Linked DNA regions of Homo sapiens: all the other regions are linked to region 1. Evidence: promoter capture Hi-C in human tissues and cell types (Jung and others, 2019). All regions are on one chromosome and are shown on one strand. Each heading gives the region's core, a stretch centred on a gene start or on the middle of the fragment in contact. The rest is flanking DNA. Distances are from core to core; before and after follow the strand shown.

What was found. The method cuts DNA at HindIII sites, captures the fragments that hold promoters and counts their contacts. A contact is called where the count stands out against the background at its distance.
Region 2: a fragment that was not itself captured here is called in contact with the fragment with the promoter of COMTD1 in region 1 in 1 of the 25 tissues and cell types used here (dorsolateral prefrontal cortex).
Region 3: a fragment that was not itself captured here is called in contact with the fragment with the promoter of COMTD1 in region 1 in 1 of the 25 tissues and cell types used here (dorsolateral prefrontal cortex).
Region 4: a contact is called between a fragment that was not itself captured here and the fragment with the promoter of COMTD1 in region 1, in 2 of the 25 tissues and cell types used here (adrenal gland and spleen).

What each region holds. Positions count from the first base shown.
Region 1 is chr10:75,234,497-75,237,434 of GRCh38, reverse strand. COMTD1 (catechol-O-methyltransferase domain containing 1) reads left to right here and starts at 1,478. Exons shown (of 7, transcript NM_144589.4): 1 at 1,478-1,600; 2 at 1,692-1,819; 3 at 2,063-2,168; 4 at 2,257-2,375; 5 at 2,443-2,497; 6 at 2,692-2,825. The coding sequence starts at 1,507. RefSeq lists silencers at 1,230-1,524, 1,560-1,699, 1,860-1,939, 2,070-2,359, 2,520-2,749. The HindIII fragment of the contact is 14,083 bases long and covers 1-2,938 here.
Region 2 is chr10:74,169,109-74,172,046 of GRCh38, reverse strand. The region is part of intron 1 of ADK (adenosine kinase); the gene reads right to left. Among named protein-coding and RNA genes, the nearest start is that of ADK, 19 kb to the right of the region's middle. The HindIII fragment of the contact is 7,141 bases long and covers 1-2,938 here.
Region 3 is chr10:74,205,769-74,208,706 of GRCh38, reverse strand. All of the region lies in intron 2 of ADK (adenosine kinase), which reads right to left. Among named protein-coding and RNA genes, the nearest start is that of ADK, 56 kb to the right of the region's middle. RefSeq lists enhancers at 1,166-1,696, 1,697-2,229. The HindIII fragment of the contact is 5,622 bases long and covers 1-2,938 here.
Region 4 is chr10:74,222,652-74,225,589 of GRCh38, reverse strand. It overlaps ADK (adenosine kinase), which reads right to left. Exons shown (of 11, transcript NM_006721.4): 3 at 999-1,052. Among named protein-coding and RNA genes, the nearest start is that of ADK, 73 kb to the right of the region's middle. The HindIII fragment of the contact is 3,256 bases long and covers 1-2,938 here.

The sequences.
Region 1 (2,938 bases), core at 229-2,728:
CTAAGAATACCAACCAGAGGCCAGGCACGGGGGCTCACACCTGTAATCCCAGCACTTTGGGAGGCTGAGGCAGGAGGATCACTTAAAGCCAGGAGTTCGAGACCAGCCTGGACAACATAGTAAGACCCCTTCTCTTTAAAAAAAAAATTTTTTTTTTTAAATTAGCTGGGCACAGTGGTGACCGCCTGTGGTCCCAGCTACTTGGGAGGCTGAGGCAAGAGGATTGCTGAGCCTGGGAGCTCGATGCTGCAATAAGCAGTAATCTTGCCACTGCACTTCAGCCTTGCCAGAGACCTTGCCAAAAAAAAAAAAAAGAACACCAACGCCAGGCACAATGGCTCAGGCCTGTAATCCCAGCACTTTGGAAGGACGAGGCAAACAGATCACTTGAGGCCAGGAGTCTGACACCAGCCTGGCCAAAATAGCAAAACCCGTCTCTACAAAAAATACAAAAATTAGTTGGGTGTAGGGGTGCGTGCCTGTAGTCCCAGCTACTCCAGAGTCTGAGGCAGGAGAATCGCTTGAATCAGGAGGTGGAGGTTGCAGTGAGACCAGATTGTGCCACTGCACTCCAGCCTGGGTGACAGAGCGAGACTCAGTCTCAAAAAAAAAAAAAAAAAGGACAGCGTCAGCGTCTTTCACCTCCTCCGGAGTTTGGCGCATGGTAGGGGTTCAATCAGTGTTCTCTGGACAGTGTTTCAACAGAACAACCTTGCAAGGGAGCTTCACCGGCTTTCTCCCCAAGATGTCTTCATTCCAACCTACCAACATAACAGCAGCTGCCACTTATGTATTGTGCTACTGTGTGCGAAGCTGTGGGATCTGGTGCCTTTTATGGTAAGATTGTAGGCCTCATTTTACAGGAAGGAAACTGAGGCTCAGAGAGACTGGCAGGACCAAGATTAGACACTCGTATCCATCTGGCCCCCAAAAGCAGGATTTTAACAGCTAAGAATATGGTCTCAGTTCCACAGGCCCACCCCAGGGCTCCTGAACCCCAATTCGAGGCTGCATGCCCTCAAACCAGTTCCCTCACTCCTTCAGCCTGATGCTTTGGGGCATCTTGTCCAGGAGGCCTTCCCCCTTTAATCTCTATCTCTTGTACTTGTGACTATCTTGTAACTTACACTGGCGCCCTCCATACACAATTCACATATGCCCCCAAGGGGCCTCAGAATAAATGGTGGCGAGGAGAAAAAAGCATTGGCAGGAGGGGAATGGAGGCAGGCACCTGGACTGCGGGCACAGGCGGGAAAATTCAGATCTAGGCGCTTGGCCTGCTCCCCGCAGGGGCGCAGTTCCCGGCGCGGCCACCAGATCGCGCCCGGCTCTCTCGGGCGGGGCTTGCAGTAAGGCTGTGTGGCCGCCAGATGATGCCCGAGACCGCGGCTCCGCGGGTAGTGCCCCGACAAGGTGGAGCCCGGCGGGCCCGCGAGTCCGAGACCTGTCCCAGGAGCTCCAGCTCACGTGACCTGTCACTGCCTCCCGCCGCCTCCTGCCCGCGCCATGACCCAGCCGGTGCCCCGGCTCTCCGTGCCCGCCGCGCTGGCCCTGGGCTCAGCCGCACTGGGCGCCGCCTTCGCCACTGGCCTCTTCCTGGGTGAGCAGGACCTGGTCCCGGCGGGCGGGTGGGCGGGCGCAGAGTAGGGCGCGGCGTGGCTCAGGTTAATCCAACACCCTCTCCCCGTCAGGGAGGCGGTGCCCCCCATGGCGAGGCCGGCGAGAGCAGTGCCTGCTTCCCCCCGAGGACAGCCGCCTGTGGCAGTATCTTCTGAGCCGCTCCATGCGGGAGCACCCGGCGCTGCGAAGCCTGAGGCTGGTCAGCAGGGCGCGGGACGGAAACGGGCGTCCCTCTCGACCCCTGCGGGTCCCACGTGGCTGTGTGACCTTGGGCTGGGCCCTGGCCCTCCCTGGGCTTCCGGCTTCCCTGGGCCGGGTGCGGTGGGCGTTCCGAAGGGCCAGTCCCCCAGGCCACGCCCAGAACCGCGCCCCTGGGGCTTGGGACCCCCAGGGCGAAGGTGGGTGACCTGCATGGCTGGTGCCACCCTCTCCTTTCACGCAGCTGACCCTGGAGCAGCCGCAGGGGGATTCTATGATGACCTGCGAGCAGGCCCAGCTCTTGGCCAACCTGGCGCGGCTCATCCAGGCCAAGAAGGCGCTGGACCTGGGTAGGGGCACGCGGCCGGGATCCCGGAGGGCCGAGGTTTCCGGGCCGACCCCCACTCTGGGCTGAGCCCGTCTGTGTCCTGGTCCCAGGCACCTTCACGGGCTACTCCGCCCTGGCCCTGGCCCTGGCGCTGCCCGCGGACGGGCGCGTGGTGACCTGCGAGGTGGACGCGCAGCCCCCGGAGCTGGGACGGCCCCTGTGGAGGCAGGTGAGCGCCCGCGCCTAGCTCTGCAGCCCCAGGCGGGGGCGCAACGGCTGACCCGCTCCCTCCGCAGGCCGAGGCGGAGCACAAGATCGACCTCCGGCTGAAGCCCGCCTTGGAGACCCTGGGTGAGCACCGAAGCGGGAAGGGCTTTGAAGCCATTCATTGCAAACGAGGCTGCTGTGTGGCCGAGCTGTGACTGGGCCTGCCGGGCAGGTTAAGGGCAGGGCCGGTTGTCACAGAGCCCGGGCCGGCCTGGGAGGGGCCTCAGGGCCGCCGGGGCCGCGGACTCAGCCGCACCTGCCCTCCCTCCCCCCGCAAGACGAGCTGCTGGCGGCGGGCGAGGCCGGCACCTTCGACGTGGCCGTGGTGGATGCGGACAAGGAGAACTGCTCCGCCTACTACGAGCGCTGCCTGCAGCTGCTGCGACCCGGAGGCATCCTCGCCGTCCTCAGAGTAAGGGATCCACTGCGGGGGAGGAGAAAGCACCCTGTCGGGCCGGGTCCCCATCTTTTCCCTTGACTCCTCTTATACCCCAAAGCCCCACCCAGTCCAGTCACGTAGGCTAC
Region 2 (2,938 bases), core at 439-2,938, 1.1 Mb after region 1:
CCAGTCGTGTCAGCAGTTACAAACACAAAAATATTATTTCAAGAAAGAGGACTCATGTGATCTTTCAGAGTCAATAATGTAGCGACAAAAGTAAAGATATATTTTCCCAGGTAAAGGCAGAAGTTCTGTTATTCACAGCAACTTCCCTTCCCCAGCCTTTCATGCTCTATTTCTAATCTTTCCATTCTACTCTTTTTCTAAATACACACACACACACACACACACACACACACACAGAGAGACAGAGAGAGACAGAAAGAGAGTGAGCGCTGAGAGAGAGAGTACTGAGTAACTACTACTTTTGATCAATTTTCTAAACAATTTATTTCAACCCTATTTTTTTCCTAAAAGCCTAGCTTATCCTACTTTAGGAGAAAATAGTCAACTGAAATTTTTAACCTTCAGTAGTCTTTTTACAATTAGAATAGCTGAATCAAGATAAGTGGGTCTGAATAGTTTGCTCTTCGTAAGACTGATATGTAAATATTCCATATACTTTATCTAATCTTGTGGTCTGGCCCTATAAAAGCAATCAGATACATAACCCAAAATAGCTAAGTGCCTCCAAATAGCATACCAAAAATGTGGACCCATCCACTAATCTCTTCAACAAATGCTTCAAGCCCCAAAATAATAGCAAAGTTCTCTTCAAACACAACCAGTTTGTTAAGGGTGCGATAAAACAAGCACTCTCATATAAAATTAATGGGAGTATAAATTAGTACATTTCTACTATAAAGAATTTTGGCAATATGTGTCAGTAATTCCAACTTTTAGGCAACTATCATTAAAAGAGAGACAAATGTGTATAAAGATTTGTATACCCAGTTATTCATTTCAGCCTTATTAACAATAGCAAAAATTTATTATATCCCAAATAACCAGAAATAGGGTAATAGTTAAATAATTACAGAATGTTATGGAACTATTATAAAATGTTTCCACAGACTTTTTAGGGACATAAGAAAATGCTCATGATATAATGTTAAATGAAAAAAGCAAAACAAAAGGAAGTAGAGTATGAACTTGACTGTGTTTAAAAAAATACACACCATATATGCATAGAAAAAAATGATTGGAAAGAAATACACCTAAATGTTATTAGTTATCTCTGGAAAGTAGGATTATGCATAATTTTACTTTATTTACATTCATCCATCATTAATTTTCTAATACTGGTTTTATAGTTATAATTTTTATAATTATTATTAAATATCAACTATCTTTTTTCTTTTTTTTTTTTTTTTGAGATGGAGTCTTGCTCTGTCGCCCAGGCTGGAGTGCAGTGGCGCGATCTCGGCTCACTGCAGGCTCAGCCTCCCAGATTCACGCCATTCTCCTGCCTCAGCCTCCCGAGTAGCTGGGACTACAGGTGCCCGCCACCACGCCCGGCAAATTTTTTTTGTATTTTTAGTAGAGACAGGGTTTCACCGTGTTAGCCAGGATGGTCTCGATCTCCTGACCTCGTGATCCGCCTGCCTCGGCCTCCCAAAGTGCTAGGATTACAGGCGTGAGCCACCGTGCCCGGCCTTACTATCTTTTTTAAATGGCTTAAAAATACAAAACTTACTCCTGCCCTTTTTGAAAACTTGCATTTTTAAAATCATAACCTTGTTCCTGAGTTTTTTTAAAAAAAGAAATTCACAACCGTCAAAACTACCCTTATTTTTAGACAAATTGGGCTAATTTTATAAATGTTTCATTTTTTCATGTATAAAGATTCTTTAAGACAGGAATAACAAAAATAAGGTGTCCTCATGATTTTTTTGATTAATTTTAAATCACAACTTGACAAAAGTTAAAAGTGTGTATCCTACTTTTAGAGCTTTGCAAAGCCTTGACGAGCCCAGCTGTCATAACATGAATGTGGAATGTTTTCCCTGCATGTTACTTAAAAATACAAACCCTCATTTAATATGAATTCAAAAATCAGTAAAATAATATTATTTAAAGAATCTATATCATATCCAAAAAGAGAAACTTCTTAAAACTTGTCTCCCTAAAATAGTGTGCAGCCATGTAAAGGTCAGGGGCCTGGGAATGAGAAGGGATTCGAATCCTGGACTTACCAATAACTTTATTACTTTTGACAAATCATTACCTCTTTGACCATCAGTTTCCTTTTCTGAAACACAAAGGAGTTTGTTATAGGTGACATCTCAGGTTCCTTTAAGTTCTTATTAGACAATGAAAGAAAATACTTGTGCATACTTGTATCTCAAAACATATTGAATTTTTTTAAAGGAGTTGATAAATTTTAATGCAATTTTAGTTAGCTTTCATTATGGACAAGTTTATTCAAAGAAACACTGCTAAATCTATTAATTCTCTCCTGCAAAAGACATTGTAAGAATGCTATTATGTTGTTTGCTTTTAATAATCATCTTTAGATTCTTATATGTCACATTTCACTTTAACATCACATATTCAAACAAAATACAATCTTTAAATGGAAGCTGGCAATTTATTTCCCTGGAGAATTTGAAGAGTACAATAACATTTGACTGATTGAACTTTATTTAGTAAGAATTCTTAGCAAAACTCCCTCCCAGGCACACCCACACAGTACTTCTTTATTTTCTGTGAGCTACAAATCTTTGACTCTCAAAGGCAACTCCAATCTGAAAGTACAAGATAACACTGCTTATCAATTATTTATGCTGCACAGAACATATTTTTAAACTATAGAAGTGAATATCACTATCATTTCACAACAGAAAAGGGATTTTAATACAAAAATATAGAAAGTACATCACAGAAATAAAGAATAGCCCTTCTCAAAAGCTTGTTGCTAACCTTATGAAATATATTTTCTTTTTCCTTTTTTTTTAAGACAGGGTCCCACTGTCACGCAGGCTGAAGTGTACTGGCACAATCTTGGTTCACTGCAACTTCCGCCTCCCAGGCTCGAGCAATCCTCCCACCCCAGCTTCCTGAG
Region 3 (2,938 bases), core at 143-2,642, 1.0 Mb after region 1:
AGTACTTATCTAAATACTTATCTAATGGTGGCTCAAAATGTAGGCTAAACACGATTCGTTTATATCATAAGGTAAGTTTTTAAATATATTTGGAAGAAATAGCCAGGAGTAACAATAGAGAAGACTCTTTTATTGTTAGGGTCCAAAGACTTGTTTTTTATCTTCAAGTACTTATTTGAAAATCAAAGTTAAAGATTAAAACCTTCCAAATATAAAATAGAACTTCAGCTAGCCACTTAGGACCAGCTGCTAGTAAAACATGTAAAACAAAGAAGTTACTCGAGCTCCCAGCAGCGTCATTGATGGCAGCAGCAGGCTGTCTAGAGCAGCTGCTGCAAAGACACTGGCTACAATTGGGGAGATGCAGCCAGGGCTGCATGCTCCACAGAGCCCATGGGAGCTGGGAACAGGTGGGAGCCACACCCACTTCCAAGTTGGCAGGGCTGGAGCCCCACCCTCCTGAGTGCAGCTGCAGCCACCCAGCCATGGCTGTGGACCCAGGTATCCCTGCACTCTCTGGGGCCCGGGAAGTCCCCCTTTCCCCTGCAGACTCAGAAGTGCCTGTTCCCATGCCTGGCCTCTCCTCGATCCCAGCACCTGCTCCAGGGTGGAGCAAAGTCGTGGCCAAGCCCAGGCACTGTCACAACCCAGCAGGTGTGCATGTGCTCGGGGCAGCACTGACATACCAGCCCCCTGCCCCCTCAGCCCCCTCTGGACTTTAGGTGCAGAGAAGCATGGGAAGGAGGCCAAGGTGGGACTGAGGGCAGCTCAATGGGGCCAGCAAGTACCCTCATCACCAACAGCCTGCACACTGTGGACAACATGATTGATGGCAGCAGGAGGCAGACACTCTCCTGGGAAAAAAGGGGTGGGTTCAGGTGAAGCCCTGCCTTCAAGCCAGGGACAGCCTGAAGCATGGGGGCCAGGCTATCAGTTCCAGGTGGGGTCCACTGAGGGGAGTGAGACTCATGGTGCTTTTTCCAGACCCACCCATAGCCGCCCATGGACCAATCAGCACACACTTCTCCCTTGTGAAGCCCATTAAAAACCCTGGACTCAGCCAGACTTACAGAAGAGACCTGGGACTACCAACTGTGGAAAGGAGTTACCCCCTCGGGGTCTCATCTCACTGAGAGGTGAACACTTGTCAGGACGACCTGCCTGCAGAAAGGAGCTACCCACTTCGGGTCTCCTGAGAGCTGTTCTGTTGCTCAATGAAGCTCCTCTCCACCTTGCTCACCCTCCAGTTGTCCCCATACCTCACTGTTCATGGATGCAGGATAAGAAGACCCACCAAGTGGCAGGACTGAAACAGCTGTAACACAAACAGAGCTAAAATATGCCTCACCCCACTCAGCACCTTGCAGGCAACAAGAAGGAAAGAAGAGCTGCAGCCCTTCTGAGAGCCCAGACCTAGGGGGTTCCCAATCCAGGGCTGTGACACTCTCTTTGGGGCTCTGTGGTTTCTGGTGTCTCCAAGCTTCTGGGCACCACCATATTATCCTCGTCCAGACGTGGGTTCCTACAGTGGAAGCCACTTGAGATGCATCAGATCCAGCCGCAAGCTTGCATGAAGCCAGCACCTGTGCCAGTGCCTGGAGATGCCCACCCCACCACAGCAGCCAGCATGAGTGGCTGTACACAGTGGCCAGATCCCATATTCGCTTGCTCACACACTCTTTGCCACGCCACTCTGCACCTGGCTCGCCCTTGGCAGGTGTGGGATCCAGGCTGGTAGCATGAGCCGAACGCAGCCTGCCAGGCCAAACAAGCAGAACAAGCCTGGCAGGCACAAGCAAACCTCAGGCAAAGGCTCCACCAACCACAGTGGCTTCTGGCTGGAAAAGCGACACCCTAAGGATCCTGTGACATCATCACACAGCTGCCAAGTCATAATCACTCTGATCACATTTGCCTGAAATTTTAAAAACAGTGATCCAAAAACATAATGTTGAGTGAAAAACAGCATACTAACAAAGACTACACATAGTATTAGCCCATAAACATTCATCTTCAGGTTATATATGCCTAACAAACATCTGGAGGCATGTTCACCAAAATAACAACACTGATTATATATGTGTGAAAGCTAATCATATAAATTGGGTCATTCTTGTCATATCTGACTAAAACAGGTGACAGGCTGGGGGGAAGAGCACTCAGCACACATAACATTGCTCCAAGAAGGTAATTCTCTGCAAGCCTGGCTGCTGAAACTGCCTGTTGTCATCTGAAAACAGTTTTATCCAGTAGCTACTGAAACAATGAGCTGTGACTCTAAAAGACTAGTTCTACTCACTGCAGTCACTCACCAATCAAAGCTTGCCACCTCCCCAAAACTAGTGCCAATGAGCTTTCTTTCAAAACAATACAAAACATTTCACCTTTTTATAAAACTTCCAATCTTATCTTTCTTCTTCAGACATAGCAAAGACCACCTGGTCTGTGTGTATATCCCAAATTTCAATTCTTGCTTCCCATATAAAATGTTCTACATTTATGGGTTTGTCTCTATACTTTATTTTACTTTTGAAATACACGATAAAATTTCAAATTTTTAAGTTGCTCTTTACTTTTATACATCATGATTTTTTTAAAATAGTGACCATGAATTAGTTGACTTCCTGAACAAAATATCTCACACTACACAAACAAAAGAGATCTAATTTTAAACCCATGAATTCATGTCCAACTGATTTTATTTTCTGTTTATTACAGCCTTTGATATATAACTGACATACAATAAACTGTAGACATTTAAAGTATACAATTTGATACGTTATATACCCATATAAGCATCACACTACCAGTTTTCCCCTAACGTAACCTTTATAGGGTTAAGAAAGTTATCGACATAGTTACCTAGGTTGCTTTAAGTTATTTTTTTTCATCAGGAATAGATATTAGATTTTGTCAAAAGGTTTTTCTTTGTCTATTG
Region 4 (2,938 bases), core at 322-2,821, 1.0 Mb after region 1:
GAAGAAAATAATTTACAAAAGGTTCAAGACAGTTTTTAAAAAGCAGTTTAAAAGTACTTGGAAAAAAATTATTACTTAATCTCAAGAAGAAAATAATAGTCTTGAAGTCCTCTACGAAAAAAAATTACTGTCCCTATAAATGAGTACAAGTGAAGGTTACATTAAACTAAACCAAGAGCGACCTGAGTTAGATGTGAAAATAAAATGTCTTCAGCCAGGCATAGTGGCTCACACCTGTAATCCCAGCACTTTGGGAGGCCAAGGCAGGCAGATCACCTGAGGTCAGGAGTCTGAGACCAGCCTGGCCAACATGGCAAAACCCCATCTCTACTTAAAATACAAAATTTAGCCAGGCATGGTGGCGGGCACCTGTAATCCCAGCTACCTGGGAGGCTAAGGCAGGGGAATTGCTTGAACCCAGGAATGAGAGGTTGCAATGAGCCGAGATTGCGCCTCCAGCCTGGGCAGCAGAACAAGACTCTGTTTCAAAAAAATAAAAATAAAATAAAGTGTTTTACCTTGTACCAAACAATTGACATTTACTTTTGCATAAACCAGTGACAGAAACAAAATTATATTTGTCTATCATTACCATGAAGGTGGGTGATCCACCGGAGTAAGACCCAAAAATTAAGAGTGACAATTTATTTTTATTTTTTACTTTTTTCTGGTAGAGCAGTCAGAAAGAAAATAGGAACAATTTAATATTTTATCTGGAAAGAGAAAATAGCATGACATATTTCCCAGTAAGACTTTAGTCTAGATGATGGAATACAACACTACATCTTTTAATGTGAATACAGGAGAAATTATGTCCTGTGTAAACTTTATGTAGTGTAAATTATATAGTGTAGGTTATCATAATTGTTAGGATTAAGGTCATAGTGTTAATTATACTTTGTCATTATATAATTTTGAAAATCAGATAATTTACATATACATATATCAAGTTCATAGACAGAGTAAACTATTTACAACCAATGGTTTAATGCACTTACAGTTCCTTGTGTTTGTCTTCAGCCAAGATTTGGTCATTTGGTTTCAGAGAATACCTGTATAACAGAAACGAAAATTACACTCTTCATACACACACAGTGTCAACGTAAGTTAGCTGACCTCTTCAAAACAAGCACTCCAACACTGTTATAGGTCTCTGACTTAATTGATAAAACACCAAGAATGCCCAAGTAGACGGTTTTTTGCTGTTCTATTAGTCATTTCCAGGAACACCACTCCAGGAACTGAAAGGAGATCACCTTAACAATGCTTTGAAGATCTTCAATATTCTTCTGTAGTGAATCATCTGTAATGTCACACTTATTCAGCAGTTCAAAACTGATGGAACAACTACAACGTTAAGTATTTTGGACTTCACAAATAATATGTAAATCATTCATTAAATATATAGTAATCATATACTGTGAACCAGGCTATGTACTAAGTAGCATGACACAGGAGGGAAAGAAAAGCTTTGGAGGGTTTGTGTGTTTTTTGTTTGTTTGTTTATTTGTTGAGATAGAGTCTCACTCTGTCACCAAGGCTGGAGTGCAGTGGCACGATCTTGACTCAGTGCAACCTGTTCAAGCGATTCTCCTGTCTCAGCCTCCCCAGAAGCTGGGATTACAGGCACGCACCACCATGCCTGGCTAATTTTTGTATTTTTAGTAGAGAAGGGGTTTTAACATGTTGGCCAGGCTGCTCTGGAACTCCTGACCACAAGTGATCCAACCACCTCAGCCTCCCAAATTGCTGGGATTACTGGCATGAGTCACCGTACCCGGCCTCAAGTTTTGGAGTTTTTGATTGACCATTTACTAGCTAAGTGACCATAGGCAAGTACTCTACATCTTTAAGTCTCAGTTTCTCTGGTCATAAAATACAGGTTGCTATAAATACTAGATCAGGGATCTTTCACAGTACCATATATTTGTACTGCTGAAGGTAAACAGACTTTCTGAAGGGTACACAGAAATAGATAAACAACAATGGACAACAATTCCCAGGTCTTCAATTCTCATTCATACTCAACCCTTTCATAAAATTTAAAATTAATCTGCCTGAAAATGGATCATAGGTCCATTTGAAAGGTCATGTTGATTTTCCTCTCTGGTCTCCTCTTTCACAAGTACCTTTAAACCCACTGCTATGGTTTGAATATTTGACCCCCCTCAAATCTCATGTTGAAATTTAATCCCCAACGGGGCAATATTGAGAGCTGGGGCCTTTAAGAAGTAATTGGATCATGAGAGCTCCACCTTCATAAATGGATTAATCCATTCATGGATTAATGGGTTATCATGGGAGGGGAGCTGGTGGCTTTAAAAGAAGAGAAGAGACCTGAGCTACCATTAGCAGGTTCAGGCCCCTTGCCATGTGATACCCTGCACCACCTCAGGAATCTGTAGAGTCACTATCAGCAAGAAGGTTCTCACCAAGTGCAGCCCTTTGACCTTGGACTTCTCAACCTCCATAACTGTAAGAAATAAATTCCTTTTCTTATAAAATACCCAGTTTCAGGTATTCTAAGTAACAGAAAATGGCCTAAAATTCACTTTTTATTTATTTTTATTTTTTTATTATTATACTTTAAGTTTTAGGGTACATGTGCACATTGTGCAGGTTAGTTGCATATGTATGCATGTGACATGCTGGTGTGCTGCACCCACTAACTCGTCATCTAGCATTAGGTATATCTCCCAATGCTATCGCTCCCCCCTCCCCCCACCCCACAACAGTCCCCAGAGTGTGATGTTCCCCTTCCTGTGTCCATGTGTTCTCATTGTTCAATTCCCACCTATGAGTGAGAATATGCGGTGTTTGGTTTTTTGTTCTTGTGATAGTTTACTGAGAATGATGATTTCCAATTTCATCCATGTCCCTAAAAAGGACATAAACTCATCATTTTTTATGGCTGCATAGTATTCCATAGTGTATATGT